Linked DNA regions of Homo sapiens: region 1 is linked to region 2. The links are contacts of gene promoters, found by promoter capture Hi-C in human tissues and cell types (Jung and others, 2019). All regions are on one chromosome and are shown on one strand. The core of a region is centred on a gene start or on the middle of the fragment in contact, and the rest is flanking DNA. Distances in the headings are between cores, read along the strand shown. Region 1 has its middle 8.3 kb from the start of LINC00112. Region 2 holds the start of RIPK4 (receptor interacting serine/threonine kinase 4).

Evidence for each region. The method cuts DNA at HindIII sites, captures the fragments that hold promoters and counts their contacts. A contact is called where the count stands out against the background at its distance.
Region 1: a contact is called between a fragment that was not itself captured here and the fragment with the promoter of RIPK4 in region 2, in 1 of the 25 tissues and cell types used here (H1 embryonic stem cells).

What each region holds. Positions count from the first base shown.
Region 1 is chr21:41,722,680-41,726,800 of GRCh38, forward strand. No RefSeq gene overlaps it. Among named protein-coding and RNA genes, the nearest start is that of LINC00112, 8.3 kb to the left of the region's middle. The HindIII fragment of the contact is 6,678 bases long and covers 1-4,121 here.
Region 2 is chr21:41,764,471-41,769,120 of GRCh38, forward strand. RIPK4 (receptor interacting serine/threonine kinase 4) reads right to left here and starts at 2,582. Exons shown (of 8, transcript NM_020639.3): 1 at 2,390-2,582. The coding sequence starts at 2,571. LOC102724800 (a long non-coding RNA gene) reads left to right here and starts at 2,697. Exons shown (of 5, transcript XR_937745.3): 1 at 2,697-2,764; 2 at 3,389-3,547; 3 at 4,144-4,650. RefSeq lists enhancers at 1-294, 4,199-4,493. The HindIII fragment of the contact is 3,569 bases long and covers 1,574-4,650 here.

The sequences.
Region 1 (4,121 bases), core at 1,242-3,741, 42 kb before region 2:
ACCCAGTGCTTGGCTGGATATGGGGAGGGCGTGAAGAGAAGGAAGGCTGCCCCAGACTCAGGGGGACACCAGGGACTCCCAAAGGGACACGGAGAGCAGAGCCCGTGGCGTGGGTTGAAGGACAGATGGTGTGTCCTACACATGCTGCCTGTTGCTTTGACACCCCCCCACTTCCCCCCGCACACACACACTCCCACTTCCGGCATCCAAGGGGCAGGCCTGGCCTGGAGGAAGGATGGATGGACGCGCGGCTCTGGAATGGCACAGTGTGGGGAGTTGGGGGGAAAAGAAGAGGCACTGAAGTAGCAGGCACACAATCAGCAGCTCGCTGAGATTTTAGGAAAGAGAAAAACAACCCCACCCCACCCCAGCTGCTCTAATAGGGTGAATTCACATTAAGACCCCAAAGTCCATAAGATAGGATCTGCCCTCAGCTTAACTGCAGGCATGGAGGCTCTGAGCCTGGGCTCTGGGTCTGACCGCCCAGGTAGGAACCTGGCCTCCGCCTTGAAGCCTCTGCTCTGAGGAAGGTGCGCGGCCTCCCCGACCCTCAGCCTCCTCATCGGAGTGCAGGGGTGAGAATTCCCACATCTGGGCCTTGCTTCGTAGGAGAGGGTGAAGAGGCAGGTTCGAAGTCTGAGGACCAGGCTCAGCTGAAAGCCTTGCTCAAGAGGCTCGGTAGGATGAGCGTGAGAAGGCTCGCGGCTCCACACCCCAAGCATACTCGCTGCCCTGTGTGGACTTCTCAGTGCTGCAGGCAGGTTGGGGTCTGTATTCGTCCGTTTTCACACTGCTGATAAAGACGTACCCAAGACTGGGTCATTTATAAAGAAAATGAGGTTTGGCTGGACGCAGCGGCTCATGCCTGTAAAACTTTCGGAGGTCAAGGCGGGAAGATCGTGTGAGGTCAGGAGTTTGAGACTAGCCTGGCCAACATAGGGAAACCCTGTCTCTACTAAAAATAATAATAATAAAAAATTAGCTAAGCATGGTGGTGGATGCCTGTAATCCCAGCTACTCTGGAGGTTGAGGCAGGAAAATCGCTTGAGCCCAGGAGGTGGAGGTTGCAGTGAGTTGAGATTGTGCCACTGCACTCTAGCCTTGGCAACAGATCAAGAGTCCATCTCAAAAAAAAAAAAAAAAAGAAAGAAAAAGAAAAGAAAAAGAAGTTTAATGGACTCACAGTTCTCCATGGCTGGGAAGGCCTCACAATCGTGGCAGAACGCGAAAGGCACTTCTTACATGGTGGCAGCAAGAGAGAGAATGAGAGCCAAGCGAAAGGGGTTTCCCCTTATCAAACCATCAGATCTCGTGAGACTTATTCACTACCACGAGAACAGTATGGGGGAAACCGCCCCCGTGATTCAATTATCTCCCACCAGGTCCCTCCCACAACACATGGGAATTATGGGAGCTACAATTCAATATGAGATTTGGGTGGGAACACAGCCAGACCCTATCAGGAGCCTTAGGGGAAAGAGACGGCTGATGCCTGCCCTGTTAGGTACCTTCTCCCCCAGTGTTTCCTCCACCTTCATGAGGATCCCCATCCTTCTCTTGCCTTGTGGGACAGTCCTGGCTGACTAATCACATTAATAGGAAAATGCTGAGTTCTCTCAGGGCAGTAAACAGACATCTTTGACCAATGGCTAACAGGACTTGAGCTGGTCCTGCCAGCCAGATGTGTGCCACACTGTCTACCCGAAAACTCGCCCAATCCTCCCAGCACTCTTCTGCAGCCAGCACTGTCCTCGCTCCATCCTGTGGAAAAGACTGAGGCTGGGAGAGGCTTGGCACTGCCAGGTTCCCGAGCCTGGCCACTGTGGAGTGGTTTTGACCAGGTCCAAATCCGTGCCCTTGTCCCTGACCCAACTCCGTGCCCTTGTCCCTGGCCCCTCGCTCCTGGCCCAGCACTCACAGTGGAGCCTGCAGCCCCTGCATGCAGGTCTGGGTCTCCTGGGATTCTGTGACCCTCATAGCACTCCCCTAAGTCCCTGGCCAGTGGTGCACCAACACGCAACAGGAGACTTGCCACTGTGAGGAGCATCCCTCCTCGTTCCCTCCCGCTGTGTGCAGCTTTGCAGGTGACAGAGCACGCTGTCTCTGTCAGGCAGGGAAGGAAACTCTCTGCTAGTGGGGTACAGTTCAACCTGGGGAATATACTTATTGAGGGAAAATCCAAATTCCAGAGAATTTAAAAATAAATTTTATTATTTTCTAATAACCAAGCATTACTAGGGAAATGCGATATAAGTAGAGATGCCAGATAAAATACAAGGCCCCCAGCTAAATGTGAATTTCAGCTAATTATATTTAAAAAAAATTTAAAGGCTGAGCGTGATGGCTCATGTCTATAATCCCAGCACTTTGGGAGGCCAAGGTGGGAGGATCACTTGAGTCCAGGAGTTTGAGACCATCTTGGGCAACATAGTGAGACCCTGTCTCTAGAAAAAAAAAAAAATATATATATATATAATATATATAAATATATATATATAAAATATATATATATCAGTATGTCCCATGCAATATTTGAAATATACCTATGCTAAAATATAATGAATATATGTAGTGAAAATTTAAATAAAATGTTAGTAAAATTGAACAGTTAAACATTGAATTAAATATCTAATGAACTACTTTTTAGTATAAGTACGTCTCATGCCATAAGTAGGACACACACTAACAATGATTTGTTGATTATGTGAAATTCACAGGTAACTGAGTGTCCTGGAGTCATTTTCGTCCTGTACTTTTATTTGGTGAATCTGGCAGGCAGCTTTCCCCGCCTGATGAAACTTGGGAGTTGCTGCCGCCCTCTGCCACAAGGTTGGCCGTGTCTTCCCCTGCCGCTCGCAGCTACACACGGTGCACGAGGCAAAGCAGCGGCCAGACGCCCTCTGAGCGTGATGGCGGGCAGGTGCCCCCACCAGAGAGCCCCAAGCCTGAGCACTATTCCTGTCCCTTCTAACTCTGCTGGGAGCCCCATCTTGCCTCCGGCGTCAGCCCCACCCCCCTCAGCTCAGCCTCAGCACCCCTGCAGCGGGGGAATCACAGCCGACTCCTTGAGGTCCCTCCCGGCAACGGTGCCCACTGCCCACTCTGCAGGGGACAGAGTGGAAGCCCCAAGAGGGACGAGAGGCTACAAGCTCTGGGGTGGGGGGTGAGGTCAGCCTGCGCTGGTCTGACCCAGTCCGACTCCTCAGGGCGGCCGGAGCCTGTGGTCGGGAGGCGTGCGGGGCTGTGCCCAGAGCAGCGGGTCGGTCTCTTTGGAGCACTTCCCTTCTGCGCGCGTCCAGCACCCCGGAATTGATTCACAGCCAGTCTGGGTCTGTTTTCTAACCAAGCGCCTTGCTCATGAGGCACGCTGGTGTCCTTTAGAAGGGACCCAAAGCTTAAAGTTGCCTTTGTCAGTTCCCTAAGAACCCACATAAAACTGGCCACGTCCAGGGCCTCTCCTGCCTCCCCGGCACGAAGCGGTGCGGAGCAGCAAGGCCAGCCTGGCCTCCGCAGGGAAAGCTCTGCCTCCAGCCTGGTCGAGGCCCTCCCCTCAGCAGAGGCAACCCTAACAGACTCCCTTTCCCAGGAGCTGACGGGCGAGTGCCTTAGAGCCCTGTTCTCAGAGCCAGGCAGGCCGCTGCGGAGGCTGTAGGGACCAAACAAAGTCAGGTCTGTGAAATGCTCGGCGCGGGGGCGCGGGGCCCGCAGGGAGTCCGGGTTCTCTACGTGTCCTCCCTCTGGCTTTCCTCATCCCTTCCCTTCCTTCCTCCTCCCTCTCTCCTTCTTTCTCCTCCTCCTCCTCTTGTTCTTCTTCTTCCTCCTTCCTGCTCCTCCTTCCTCCTCCTCTTCCTCCTCCTCCTCCTCTTTCTTCTTCCCCTTCTTCTTCTTCCTCCCTCTCCTCCTCCCCCCCCCTTCTTCTTCTTTCTCCTTCCTCGACACCACAACACAAAGCAGAATGAAATTCGTGCCATAGAGAAGTCCCGGCAAAATGCTGCCAGACCTGAAGAAATGGGGACTGCTTCCGCCTGGATGGCAGGGCTGGGGACAATTATTGGAGGAGAGAGCAGGTGGCCTGCAGGGCTGGTGAAGGGTAAGAGGGACTTGTAAGAGCAGAGGTGGAC
Region 2 (4,650 bases), core at 1,332-3,831:
AAGAGAAGCAAGACTTAGGCAGAAGGGGTACAGGGCCGGGGGCTGCACACAAAGACCCTAGGAGAATCCTATGCCCCAATTCAGGGAACATCTTGCAAATATGAGGGGCTGGGGTGGGAGGCAGCTCGTCAGAAAAGCACTGAGAAATGTGGCAGGGCAAGTGGCACAGCGACTACTTCAAGGCCTAGGTACAACCTTGTGAGACTGCAATGCAACCAGCTCCTGGAGCACAGTGGGACTGATGTACATTCCTAACAAGAACCTCAGGCTCAATACAGTCAATAATTAACCTAAAGGAATCAGCTTCACAAAGAGCCAGGGTTTGACCAACTTCTCAGAAAGATCAGCCACTGCTGCACATGGCAAAGCCCCAACCTACTCTACCAGGCCCAGCAGAGCACAGGAGGTGAAATGCTTCCTGCTAGGCGATGCTGACCTCGACCTAGCCACCTGACATGCCACCACCTGTCTGCTTTGGGCAGGGTAGGAAAGGCTTCCAGTTAAAGTACAAAACACTTTTCAACCAAGCTATGCAATATCCTAAGTGATCCACCTTAAGTGGAGAAAGCCTCCCTCCAACCAGGCCACCCAAGAAATAAGGGACTGGTCGCTAGAAATAACAGAAGATCCTAAGGATGTGAGCTGGTGAGTCAGTCCAGGTAGGTGCTTGTTTACTTTGCTCTTCCAATATAAGAAAGTGGTGTGAAAATTTTCACTGATGATTAAAGCTCACACACATCCCCAAGAGATAAAACGAATGCCCCTATGGAGAGGGTTCCCTTTCAGAACCTAACCACTGGCTGGTATTCAAAGTGGTTTGGATTTCATCAAAATAACCACAGCACCCCTCCTGGCCTGAGAAGTTCCCAGAATCTGAGGCAGGGGAGAAAAAGTGCACAGCCTGGGCCAGCATCTCACCTTTGAACTAGTGGTGATTTGATGACACTCGTCACCACTCTACTGGTGTTTCCAAGAAACACTGGATTTGAGGGTTACGGCAAAAAGCCACCACTATCTCTGCTGTGTAGTCTCCTAGCCAAGGACGAAAATGCAAAGGGAGAGGACAGGCCTCTCATCCACAGAGGCGTCACAGTCACGGTATGGGGCTGCAGCACGCACTGCCACCCCAGACACAGGCATCACAACGATTCTGCAGAAAAGCTGGGGCTTAGCGGCCCCATCACTCAATCAGCCGAGCATTCGAAACCAGGTCTGCCAGGCAGCAAAGGCTAAATGGTATTTTAAAAAGGTGTCGCTTCTGAGTGTATGTGTTCAAGGAATCTCTAGGTAAAATACAAGCATAGCTTCCATGTAGAAGGTAAGCTTCATTAAAGGATAAATAATTAAAACGTGCTAAATTGAGCCTTACATATGAACCATCAAAATCAACTGTAAACAGTGAAATCTACAACAACAAAGAGGTACTGTTCAAGAACATTCTCCCTACCTCTCAAATTATGCACAGACGACAACCGACCCACCGAATTTAACACGGGCGGCTCTGCGTCCTTCCCATTCGTCTTTGTTACCTTGAACACTCCTGCTAGGTAGGTACAGGCAGGTTCCATTCTGACTTTTGGACTGGGAAACTGGGGTGCAGGAGGGCCCCATGGCACGGCCACAGAACTTGAATGCAAGGCCCTTCCCTAGCGGGTCGGTCTCGAAATTAAGTCAGCTAAAACGAGAGTGTGCGGCGAGGAAGCGCTGGGCGGACGGATCAACACCCCGGGCCCCGTGCCGGACCCCACTGCCAGGCCCGAGCCCCGGAGCTCCACCGCGCAAGCGCCGGGCGCCCGGGAAGCCTCGCCCGAGCCAAGCCGAAGCTTCCGACCGAAATAATTACAGTCTTACACCAATTTGTGTTCCAACGTAAATTACTAAGTAAGTCGAACGGAGGCTAACTCCACTCACAAAGCCCAGAGGCCCACATGGCAATTTTTCTAAGCCCTGCGCAGACCGCAGCGCCCCGGTGGGTCCCGGGCGGGCCGGACGCGCCTCCCAAGGGCGCGGGTCCGAGGCGCAAGGCGAGCTGGAGACCCCGAAAACCAGGGCCACTCGGGGAGTGTCAGGAAGCACGACTGGGCGCCTTAGGACGTCCGGGCAGACGCGGCCCCCGAGGAGCCCCAGAGGAGCCCCAGAGGAGCCGCCTGACCCGGCCCCGACGTGCGCGATCGAGCCCGGGCTCGCCAAAGCCCCCGCGCCCCTCCGGCCCGGACAGGCCGAGTGGACATTGTCGGAGCCCCGCGGCCTCGCCGGCAATTGGTTTCCCCCCCGAAGCTGCTCCGGGGGTGAGTTCGGGAGAGAGAGGCAGGACCCCGGGACCAGAGCACCCCGACCCCGACCCCAGCCCGGGCCCCAGCCGCCCCAGCGCCCCGCCCGGGCCGCTCACCTGTCGTCGACGTGCAGGCTGGGCGAGCACTTGATGGCCAGCCAGGTCTTCCAGTGGACATGGCGCACCTTGTACACCTGCCCGAAGCCGCCCGAGCCCACCTTCTCCCAGCCCGTGAACTCGCCCGCGTCGAAGGTGCGCAGCAGCGCCAGGGCCCATGGGGTCCCGCCGTCGCCCTCCATCGCGCACGTCTAGCCAGCGCCGCGGCGGCTGCCCAGGTGCCCAGGTGCGCGCTCCGCCCTGTTACGTCACTTCCGTAGGTCGTCCCGCCCCCAGGCCCCGCCCACTTACCCGCCCCCCGGGCGCCCTCTCTGCCAGCGCCCGGTGACTGCGGACGGATGAATAGACGCTGCGGGTCACTGCGCTCTCCCCTGGGTGAGCAGAGCTTCTCACGCTTCTCACGGGTCTCGACGTGCGCATCAGCTGCCCTGCTTTTCTTTGCTTTTTTTTTTTCCTTAATTGCGGAGTCACATGCAGTTGTAAGAAATCATTCACTTTGCCTAGTTTCCCCCAGTGTTACCACTTTGCAAAACTTTGCCAAAAAAAAAAGTCCAATCTCACAACCAGGATATTGACTTTGATACAGTCACCGATCTTATTCAGTTTTGCCGTTTTACTCGTCTTCCTTTGCATGTATTAGTTTTACACAATGTAATCATCTGTGTACCTTCCCGTATCCACCCCCACCTGGCCACTCCTGTGGCGATTTTACAGCCGCACCCCGGAGCCCTGGCATCACTAATCTTTCCTCTATTTCTAAAATTGTTTTATTTCAGAAATGTTATGTTTAGATACAGGAATCATACAGCGCCTAATTTTTTGAAATTGGCTTTCTTCACTCGTTAGTCTAATTCCCTGCAGGTTCACGTCTTGCTTTTTTACACGAGTTTCCTCTCAGAAAGTAACTTTTTTTAAAAAATTACCCAACAGCAAATCTAAAGTCCATTTCAAATGCAAGAGTTCCCTCATCCTTTCCTAAATAACAGCCTCTTTTTACAGGTAGAACAGATGGTTTGAAAAGGAAAGATTTTTTTTTCACATATGGGGAAAAAAAATTCCCAGCCTTGGAAGGATATTTGGGTTAGAGGCCGAAGTGCATCACAGATCACGCACGCGTCCACACCTCAGAAAACACTCACTCATTCCTGAGACGCAACGGTGAGTGAAGGCTTATTTTTGGCCACAGGAGATTAATAATGAAGACAGGAGGGCGGAGCTAAAGGAGAGGGTATTTTAACGACATTAACTGTGTTTTTGTGTTAGTAACTCGGAAAGAGAGAGGCTGCCCCAAGTCAGCGCATTGAAAGCCGCAGACCTAGTGTCTCCAGGCTCCCCCTTCCAAACGGGCGCGGACCTTCTTTCATAGCCTGTAGCGGGGAGCCGCGTCTCCCCACTGCCTCCCCACTCCCATCCGGCCGCTCTTTGGAGGGAACTCACACATCCCAACATGACGATGCTTGCTCGGGGGGCCTCCTGGGGGGACCAGGGAGCCACTTCCTTTCCCACATACTCCGGAAATTAAAGTTGGTCTCCTTAAGGCTGGAGTGGCAAATAGTTGTTTTAAGCTTGTCACAAATGTAACTTACATTTGGACTAATGTTTTAAAAAATAATTGGAGTTTTGAATCTACGAAGATACCTTGGAAGTAAACATAGTTATTATTTTGGTGGGAAAAAAATGAATGGACTTGAAAGTGAGTCACCTGTCCTGTTCCCGGGGCTCAGCTCTAGCAAAGTACCTTTCTCCATCTACAGTCTCCGGCACACAGCTCCGCAGCTGGGGGTGACTAAGAGCCCACACCACGCAAGTAATAAAACGCTCCAATTTCATTTATTTAATCATCTGTGTGCTTCATTTGACAAATATTTATGGAGTGTCTGCTGCTAGCTCAGTGCCTGGTGCCTGGGACTGAAGACCAGAGCCCCCTGGAGACCAAAAGAGCCAGCTCCCAGCTGTGAGCAGATCGGGTCCAAAGATCACGGGCTCGGCGGCAGGAACCTGGTTTGGTATCCGGCTCCTCTGCGGACTTTGAAGTGCTTTACCGATTCACATGACAACTGGTAAAACGAAAACAAACACCTTTCCAGGAATTGTGAATTCGAGTTCCAGACCCTCTGGGATTCCGGGAGCGCAGCTGCTATTTATGTTAACAGTCATTGGTCCCAGGCTGGTGAGGTTAGAATTTCCAAGTATAAAAGTAATTTAGTTTCGTTTTAAATACATTTTAGGGCCAAAGAAAAGTGGAACGATTTAAAGAAAAA